Regions from separate parts of the Homo sapiens genome. Here all the other regions are linked to region 2. Evidence: promoter capture Hi-C in 16 types of primary human blood cells and fetal thymus (Javierre and others, 2016). All regions are on one chromosome and are shown on one strand. Each heading gives the region's core, a stretch centred on a gene start or on the middle of the fragment in contact. The rest is flanking DNA. Distances are from core to core; before and after follow the strand shown. Region 1 overlaps FPR3 (formyl peptide receptor 3). Region 2 holds the start of DPRX (divergent-paired related homeobox). Region 3 has its middle 24 kb from the start of ZNF577.

The links. Contacts are between HindIII fragments. The CHiCAGO score rates a contact against its expected background, and 5 or more counts as called.
Region 1: a fragment that was not itself captured here is called in contact with the fragment with the promoter of DPRX in region 2 in 5 of 17 cell types (naive CD8 T cells, naive B cells, total CD4 T cells and 2 more); the score reaches 8.8 in naive CD8 T cells.
Region 3: a contact is called between a fragment that was not itself captured here and the fragment with the promoter of DPRX in region 2, in 5 of 17 cell types (total CD4 T cells, non-activated CD4 T cells, naive CD4 T cells and 2 more). The highest score is 7.9, in total CD4 T cells.

Annotation. Positions count from the first base shown.
Region 1 is chr19:51,821,250-51,824,635 of GRCh38, reverse strand. FPR3 (formyl peptide receptor 3) reads right to left here. Exons shown (of 2, transcript NM_002030.5): 2 at 1-897. The coding sequence starts at 887. It also overlaps a transcript of ZNF577 not described here. Among named protein-coding and RNA genes, the nearest start is that of FPR3, 28 kb to the right of the region's middle. The HindIII fragment of the contact is 5,603 bases long and covers 1-3,386 here.
Region 2 is chr19:53,630,558-53,633,775 of GRCh38, reverse strand. It overlaps DPRX (divergent-paired related homeobox), which reads right to left and starts at 1,777. Exons shown (of 3, transcript NM_001012728.2): 1 at 1,642-1,777. The coding sequence starts at 1,669. The HindIII fragment of the contact is 17,175 bases long and covers 1-3,218 here.
Region 3 is chr19:51,861,884-51,865,156 of GRCh38, reverse strand. It overlaps a transcript of ZNF577 not described here and the pseudogene LOC100419706. Among named protein-coding and RNA genes, the nearest start is that of ZNF577, 24 kb to the left of the region's middle. The HindIII fragment of the contact is 1,634 bases long and covers 901-2,534 here.

The sequences.
Region 1 (3,386 bases), core at 801-3,300, 1.8 Mb after region 2:
CAGCTGTTAAAAAAGGCCAAGGAGCTTGTTGGGTTAATCAGGACAAGAATGATTTTGTATTTGCCATTTAACAACATCTCTTTGAGCCAGACTGCCATTAGAATGCCAATTAGTTCATAAGGGAACCAACAGATGAAGAAAGAAGCCACCACAGCAGCGAAGACACGTAAGGGACGGCTGGATTTAATCATGTGGTTTCTGTGAATTTTGGCAGCGATGATCCCATAGCAGACTGTGATGATGGACATAGGCACGCTGAAGCCAATAATGAAGTGGAGGATCAGAAAGACCTTGGCCATGGTAATGAACACGTTCAACCTCTCTACAGCAGTGTCACCCCAGAATGCAAAGTTGAAAATACAGTATGTGTCCCCATTCGTAGTACTTATTGTAGTCCAGAAGATGAAATTTGGTAAGGTAAGGACTATGGTGAAAATCCAGAGTCCCGTCATCACCCTCTTGGCCAGACTCATGGTGCGATGGTTCTGGGCCCAGGCTGGATGCAGGACACAAATACAGCGGTCCAGAGCAATGATGGTGATCAGGTAGACACTGACAAACAGGTTGATGTCTATCATAACATGAACTAACTTACATAGGAATGAGCCAAAAGGCCATTTTTCTCTCATGGCGACTGAGACCATTCGGAATGGTAGGATGGCACTGAAAGAGAAGTCAGCTAGGGCCAGGTTCAGGTAACAGATGGTGTTGACTGTGCGTGTCATCCGGAATCCAGCCACCCAGATCACAAGCCCATTGCCCAGGACCCCGAAGACAAAGGTGACTCCGTGGACTAGCAATGAGAAGATCCACAGAACGGTGTGGCCAGCAGGCTCAGGGAGCACCTCCTCAGTTTCATTCAGAGGAATGGAGAAGTTGGTTTCCATCTTCCCACACCTGAAACATTTCAGCAATGGCCATTTCTCAGCTGTGACACCATCTTACAATACAACTATTCATTAACTTCCACTGTAGCTCCTCCTCCTACCAGCAGACCCTCCCCAGTGAGCCTTGTGAATGGTTATAACATAAAATTGGCACTCTCTCGGAGTTCCTTTGGGAAACGATAGTTCTCTATATTCCCATCATTATTAATATGCATGCCACCTATCAAGCTGATTACCAAGAGGATTAAAGGGCTCTGTCCACCAGCGGAAATACTGAACTGAGAGTGTATGGACAATGGAAAATTGAGCATAGGCAGCTTCAGCTTCGTGAGGAAGGCACAAGACTCAGAGTCAGAAGGTTCACATCTGTGGCCTCCATCACTCAATGCAAACATGCTGGCAAGCTCTGCAACTTCTTTCGGCCCCATGCTCTCCCAGTCTCCCAGCTCCTGTCCCTCCCACTGTGAGGACCCTTGACCTATTTTTTAGTTGATATTTAATTTGAAGTTTTAGGGTTTGGATTGAGTTAGCTGAAGAGGATTTTGAACCATTACTTGTAATATATAGACATATATTACATGCTATAGGCCGGGCGTGGTGACTCATGCCTGTAACCCCAGCACTTTAGGAGGTTGAGGAGAGTGGATCACTTGAGATCAGGAGTTGGAGACTGGCCTGGCCAACATGGTGAAACTCCATCTCTACTAAAAATGCAAAAATTAGCCAGGTGTGGTGGCAAGAGCCTGTAACTCCAGCTACTTAGGAGGCTGAGGCAGGAGAATTGCTTGAACCTGGGAGGCAGAGGTTGCAGTGAGCCAAGATCGTGCCACTGCACTTCAGTCTGGATGTCAGAGTAGATTCCATTTCCCCCCACAAAAAAAAAGAGCAGAAATATATTACATCCTATAGATTCTGTGCTAGATGAAGTCAACAAAGAGGGCCCTATATTTACTTTCTCCCGTCTGCTTTTCATTGTCCCTACTTAGCATCCGTTGTATATCTTCAAGGTCTGTGGGATAAACAGAATGAGCATGAATATTTAGCTAGTATTTGTAGGGTTCTTATCAGAGACTATTCACTGTGTTAATTGCTACATATGGGTTGTAGTTTGGTCTGCATAGTAGCTCTGTAATATTCATTGTTTGTAGTTTCCACAGGAATGACTCAATGTTGAGAGCAATTGTGAAATCTGCTGGTCACTTAAGTAGGAAACAGTAGACAAAGATCTTTAATCTAGCTTAGTCTGACTTCTAAGCCCTTTCTCTATGCAACAATTCTGACAGATATTGCTGGTGATGCCCCCTCCCCCCACAAATAACTGTTCCTCATTTCTTCTCTGCAAATCAAATCGCAATTTTGTTCAGTTACTCACTCTTTTGGGGGAAGGTATCCCTCCTCCATCTTTGCGGGCATATCTTGATTTTCTAATTTGTTCTAACTAGAATTCCTTTTGCTTTGCAAGGGATTGCTTTATTGGTGGAAACATGACTAAATTCTGGGCAATAACACTATGGGAGGATATCCTGGCATCTTTCTGGGATCTATTTCCTTGCTTTTAAGAAACAGAATCACAAAATTACAGTCCCTGCCTCTGCACCAGGTCACATGGGAAGCTGTTGCATCCAACTCAACCCAAAGGTCTCTGTGTCCCTTGTGTCTTTGCCACTTGACCAAATTTGCTTATACTGTGGTCTGTGGGCTGTATCAGAAACATCCAAGGTATTTGTTAAAATGCATATTCATGAACCCAACTCTAGAATCTCTCTGTGTAAAAGCTACAGTGATTTTTATGGCCAGGAAAATTAGAGACTCTTCCTACCTTGGGATATCCAGCCTCTCTAAAAGTAACAGCAATTATACAGCACTTGTTCACAAATAATACTCATAATAACATTGTGGGCAGCCATCATTACCCCTTTTTGTACCAGAGGGAATTCATGGCCTTGGGGTTTTTGTAGGTTTTTTTTTTTCAGCATCATGTCCAGCCGGTCAGTGGAGGCAGCAAGATTTGAAATTCAGGATGAGCAACTTTAGAGCCACTACCGTTGCAACTCTAAAATGCTGCATTTGAAAGGAGTTCCCCAGATATTTCCAGCATGTGGTCATACCCTAGTATCATGGTTTTTTCCTCCTTTCCCTTTCTCTCTTCCTTCTTTTCTTCCTGTCATTACCAGTCACTTTCACTGAGGTCTTTCATGGGACATTGTTTAATGTAGCTCAAGGTTTCTCAACGTTGGCACTACAGACAATTGGGGCTGTGTAATTCTTTGTTGTGGGGGACTGTTCTGTGCACAGTAGGATATTTAGCAACACCCCTGGCCTCTATCCACCGATGCTAGTAGCAACTCCCCCTTCAGGAGTGACAACTGAAAGTGTCTATAGACATTGTCAAAGGTCCCGTGGGAGGCAAAACTCCCCCCAGTTGAGCATCACTGTTACAGAGTAAAGAACACTGGGCTTTGGGGTCAGTTAGATCGCTACTCTTATCGTTGGCACCTT
Region 2 (3,218 bases), core at 528-3,027:
AGCACTTTGGGAGGCCAAGGCGGGCGGATCATGAGGTCAAGAGATCAAGACCATTCTGGCTAACATGGTGAAACCCTGTCTCTACTAAAAGTACAAAAATTAGCTGGGCGTGATGGTGCACGCCTGTAGTCCCAGCTACTCGGGAGGCTGAGGCAGGAGAATCGCTTGAACCTCAGAGGCAGAGGCTGTGGTGAGCCGAGATTATGCCACTGCACTCCAGCCTGAGACAGAGGGAGACCCTGTCTCAAGAAAATAATAAATAAATAAATAAATAAATACGTAAATAAGGGATCGCTTGTGCCTTACCTCTTGGGTTCTATTTTCTTTGTGTAGAAATAGGCAACTCAATCCAAGGTGAAATGGATGGACATGGTTTTATTCTTATCATTTATTCAATGTTCATTAAGTATATTCTTTTAGGAATATAGCAAGGAAATAAGCAGAAAAATAACATCACTGCTGTCACGGATGTCACCTTTTACTTTCTTTTTCTTGAGACAGTGTACTGCTGTGTTGCCCAGTGGCATGATCACAGCTCACTTCAGCCTCAACCTCCCCAGGCTCAAGCGATCCTCTCACCTCAGCCTCCCGAGTAGCTGGAACTACACAACACTGACATGCCCGGCTAATTTTTGTATTTTTTGTAGAGACAACGTCTTGTTTTGTTGCCCAGGCTGGTCTTGAACTCCTGGGCTGAAGCGATCTGCCCACCTCGGCCTCCCAAAGTGCTGGGATTACAGGCATGAGCCACCGCATGCCTCGCTCTAAAAGATCTGAATCGCATCATGCCTGAAAATGGTTTGGCAGCAGCTCCAGAGTCTAGTAAGTGCTCATGAACATGAGATTTCCAGCTTGGCTAAGCCTATATTCTATCTAGGACCTAATCATCCTCATAGGAATCAGATTCCCCTGTGCTCAAGAACAAGCATCGGGGTGGGAAGAATTAGGACACAACTACGAGGGAGAAGATTTCGGATTTGAAGGCAGAAACAGGCTTCCCTGCATTTGCCTGTGCTGTCAGATGACAGCCGCGGCCGGGCACCGAGGCTCATGCCTGTAATCCCAGCACTTTGGGAGGCCGAGGCCAGCCAATCACATGAGGTCAGGGGCTTGAGACCAACCTAGCTAACATGGTGAAACCCCATCTCTATAAAGATACAAAACTTGGGCCGGGTGCAGTGGCTCACGCCTGTCACCCCAGCACTTTGGGAGGCTGAGCCAGACGGATCACAAGGTCAGGAGTTCGAGACCAGCCTGGTCAATATGGTGAAACCCCCGGCTCTACTAAAAATACAAAAAAAAAAAAAATTAGCCAGGTGTGGTGGCGTGTGCCTGTCATCCCAGCTACTCGGGAGGCTGAGGCAGGAGAATTGCTTGAACCTGGGAGGTGGAGGTTGCAGTGAGCCGAAATCGTGCCACTGCACTCCAGCCTGAGCGACAGAGTGAGACTGTCTCAAAAGACAAACAAAACAAAACAAAACAACAACAACAAAAACGATGACAGCCTCTGTGGGAAGTCCCTGCCACCCACGTGGACGAAGCACCAGCTTCGGCCGCCTGGTCCCTCTGCCTTTTCCCGCCGCCAGCTGCTTTCCACTTCTTCACGTGTCTTTGCTTCGGTTCTCATTTTTTCTGGCTTACCTTTACGAAGATCCTCTGAGCCTGGCATCTTCTAATCCAGATGTGCGCCTGGGTTCAGGTCCAGGGATAAGAACTAGCAAAGATCAAATCCGGATTTAAGTAGCTTCCTCCACAGCCACACCCGACTCCCACCTCCTCCACCTTTCTCTGCCCTATCTGCCTCCAATATGATCCCTCGGTCCTCCAGAGCCCCCTGGATTTCTCCCAATACTGTCATTTTATCTAATATTGATTGAGCGGAGACCAACGACTCAAAGGCGAGTCCACAAACCAGCCCCACTAACACTCCTGGGAGTTGTTAAAATGCAGAATCCTGGCCCACTCCAGACTTCCTGAGCAGAAGCTGCAATTTCTTTTCTTTTTTTCTTTTTCTTTGAGACAGAGTCCCACTCTGTCACCCAGGCTGGAGCGCAATGACACCATCTTGGCTCACTGCAGCCTCTGCCTCCCAGGTTCAAGGGATTCTCATGTCTCAGCCTCCCGAGTAGCTGAGATCACAGGCCTGTGCCACCACTCCTGACTAATTTTTGTATTTTTAGTAGAGACGGAGTTTCCGCCATGTTGGCCAGGCTGGTCTTGAACTCCTGCCCTCAACGTTTCTGACTCGGTCTGGGGTGGGATCTGATGATTTCCATATCTAACAAGCACCCAGGTGACCAGGCTCCGTAATGGGGACCGGGAATGTGATTGTGAATAATGAAGTCCAGGTTTAAACCCTAAAGGGGCTTTCAGGCAACTTATATATTCTTTAGTGGCTAATATATGCTTGGCATTGTTCTGCATATCCTGATTTAGTTAACTCACTCAGAAATCATCTCATTTTATTTATTTATTTATTTATTTAGAGATGGAGTCTCACTCTGTCACCCAGGCTGGAGTGCAGTGGCACGATCTCGGCTCACAGCAACCTCCGCCTCTCAGGTTCAAGCAATTCTCCTGCCTCAGCCTTCCCAGTAGCTGGGATTACAGGCACCCACCACCAAGCCTGGCTAATTACAGGTGGCTCACACCTGTAATCCCAGCACTTTGGGAGGCTGAGGCAGGCGGATCACCTGAGGTCAGGAGTTCGAGACCAGCCTGGCCAACATGGCGAAACCCCATCTCTACTAAAAATACGAAAATTAGCTGGGTGTGGTGGTGGGCACCTGTAATCCCAGCTACTCAGGAGGCTGAGGCAGGAGAATTGCTTGAACCCAGGAGGCAGAGGTTGCAGTGAGCTGAGATCGCACCACTGCACTCCAGCCTGGGTGACAGGAGTGAGACTCCATCTCAAAAAAATAAAAGAAAAAGCTGCAACACCTTTCAGATGCCCAGGCTCACACCATGTATACCTTTTATCTTGACGACAAGGGCAGTTTGACTTCAGGTTCACAGAAGTGGCAGTTTTTCTTGCCATTCCATCCATTTGAATCTCAGTTCTGCACATCTCTACTTGTGACAGTGGTTAGCCTTTGCATAAATGAGCTTGTAGCTACTTTTTTTTTTCTTTTTGAGACAGGGTCTTGCTATGTCTCAAAAAACACAGCTGACTGCAGCCTCGACCTACTGGGCTCAAGTGATCCTCCTACATTTGCCCC
Region 3 (3,273 bases), core at 468-2,967, 1.8 Mb after region 2:
CCATTGCACTCCAGCCTGGGTGACAAGAGCGAAACTCCGTCTCAAGAAAAAAAAAATCTTTGGGAAAGTTCATTGACTGTTGCATGCAGAATTAAAGAAGAATGAATCTGAAACAGAGTGACAGCACTTACATTTATGTGAAGAGCTGAGAAGACTTCATTTTATCTTGCTTCCCACAGATGTTGGTTCCTAAGACTTAAGTTGGCCTCTTTTCTGGGTACTTATTGTTTGAGCGTGATGGATGGACTTTTTCCATTCTCTGGGCATCTCCTTCTCCCAAAGCCTTCAGAGTTGGAGGGCGTAAGGGTGCTTCATCATTGGTAATTTCTTTTCTTTGTTCCCAGTGTGACCTCTTCGATTTCATGGACTTAACAATGCTATTTATATGTTGATGACTCACAGATTTCTCTCTACAGGCTAGATATTTCCTTATCCTCCTACATTTGCCTGGGAATTGCTTGGAGATCTAATAGCTAACTCAAACTTCAAGTCATCCTTGCTTCACCGTTTCACTCATCCCACAAATCCAGTCCATTTAGCAAGTTTAGACTTTACTTTCTCCTTATATCTCGAGGTCCTCTACTCCTTTCTCTAACAGTTATTTTCACTCAAGCTTCGATGTCCATTATCTCTTGCCAAAATTATGATAGTTTTCTCTAATATACTCTCAGTCCTTTACTCTTGTTTCTATTCTCCACATAATACCCTTAATGAATTTATTTTACTATTTTCATTTATGAAAATAAATGCGGGAGTCAGGGGCGGGAGTCAGGGGCAGGAGTCAGTGTTTCTAGCCCCTCACCTCCAAAATCCCTGAACATTAAAATAAACATCAGAAACATCTTGGTTCTTAAAAGACTTCAGATTTTGACAAAAGTGTTGCGGAAAGTAATTAAAGCTTCATATAAAAAGGTAAATCTTAGTTGGAGGATGGAAAGATCTAAATTATGGTCTAAAAAATGCTATATGATGTAGCAAATCTGTACTCATTCACAGGGTGCAAGCCTAAAAATATTCATGCCATAATATTTAAGACATGGTCAGTGTTAATTACTGATAAACATACACACAGGATGTTGCTTTTAAATTGGAAATCAGGACATGTCATCCTGCTCCCACTATCATTGGTAATGGCATCCTGTTACTGTTAGCACAAGATCCAAATTCTTTTCAGGATCCTCCTACAAGGGAGCATTCCCTGATTTCGGCCTAAACGTTTTTGTTTACTTATTAATGAAAAATGTTTTGGTATAACATACATATAATGTAATTATACAGCTAGGTAACTTTCTAGTCAGCACACTGTGCAACCAGCACCTAGATCAAGAATCTGAGTCCTGTGCAGAATGGCATTGGGTGAATATTACACTGTTTATCTCTTTTACATTCAGGCCATTATACTTAGTGTCCCTATGTATGTTTTCATCAATATCTTTATTTTTATTTTCTCCTTTTGAAAATGCTTGTCTCCAAATGGTCTAGATTTAATGAGATGTTCCAAAATGATACACAAAATTCTTGCACATTCTTTTTGCAAATTTCCCCAAAATATGATTTTACCAATTTGCTTTATTTTATCTATACACACACACCACACACAGGTACATATGGTTTTTCTGAACTCTACCCTAAAACCCAAGTGTGTATTTCATAGGAAGAAGAGCATTCTTTTGCATAATCAGAATACTGTGATCAAAATCAGAATATTGACATTGATATAGTATTATTATTTAAAATACAGAGCTTACTCAAATTTAACCATCTTACTAATATCTTTTTATGGTAAATGGGAAAAGAAGCCTTTTTCTGGACCTCTTCTTGTTATCTCACTTACTCTGTTGTGCGTACACTAGCTTTCATAACATCCAGAAGTCAGAGCTTGCTAATTATAACCAATTCTTTTTGGAAAGAAATCATATGGATGCAGTGAATGTGCAGTGAATACTTGTAAACTACTCATGACCATGCCTCAGAGAACTCATGCAGGAAACAAATCCCAGGAATCTCATGATTTTAGGAGAGCCCTTCCCAGTGAGTTAAAGCTCATTGCTCATCAGCAAACTCAAACAGGAGTGAGACCCTACTGATGCAATCAATGTCAAAAAGCCTTCATTACAAATTCAGGGCTTGTGTATCATCAGAAAACTCATCATAGAGAAGGGAAAGTCTGTACATGCAGCAAATGTGGAGAAGTTTTCCCTTGGAAGTCAGAACTCATTTTATGTCAAAGAAATCATTCAGGAGAGAGACCGTTCATTTGCAAAGTATGTGATAAAGGCTTTGTGGTTAGGACACATCTCACTGTACATCAGAGAGCTCACACAGGAGAGAAACCATATGCTTGCTCAGATTGTGAAAAAGCCTTCTCAAAAAAGGCTTTATTCATGATTCATCAGTGAATTCACACAGGAGAGATACCCTATTAATGCATTCAATGTCAAACAGCTTTGAAGACCAGATCTGAGCTCAGTTATCCTCAGAAAGTTCTTCATAGAAAAGGAAAATTCTATGGATGCAGTAAATGTGGGAAAGCTTTTCCTTGGAAGTCGAACCTCATTTTGCATCTCAGAACTCATTCAGGAGAGAGACCTTTCAGGTGCAAAGTCTATCATAAAGCCTTCATGGTTAGAACACAGCTAACTATACATCAGAGAACTCACACAGGAGAGAAACCATATGCTTGCTTGGATTATGAGAAAGCCTTCTTGAAAAAGGCTCAGCTTATGAAGCATCAGTGAATTCATACAGAAGAAAGACCCTATGGATGCAGTGAATGTCAAGAAGCTTTCATCTGGAAGTTGGATCTCAACAATCATAAGAAAACTCATCATGCAGTAAGGAAATCCCATGAATGCAGTGAATGTGGGAAGGTTTTATCCTCCAAAAAAAACTTTGTTATACATCAGAGAACCCATACAGGTGAGAAACCCTTCAAATGCAATGTATGTGATAAAGCCTTCACATCAAAGGGAAATCTCATTGTATATCAGAGAACTCATATAGGAAATAAATCATATGAATGCTCAGACTGTGATAGGGCCTTCTCCAGTAAGGTATATCTCATGACTCATCAGCCAATTCACACAGGAGAGAGACCCTATGATGCAATGAAGGTCAACAAGCTTTCACCCAAAAGACAGGTCTCAGTAAGCATCGAAAAACTTGCCATGCAAGAATGAAATCTTATGGATACAGTGGATGTGGGAAGGTTTTGTCCTGTAAGTCAACTCTCATTATATAACAGAGAACCTATACAGGTGAGAAACTCCTCAA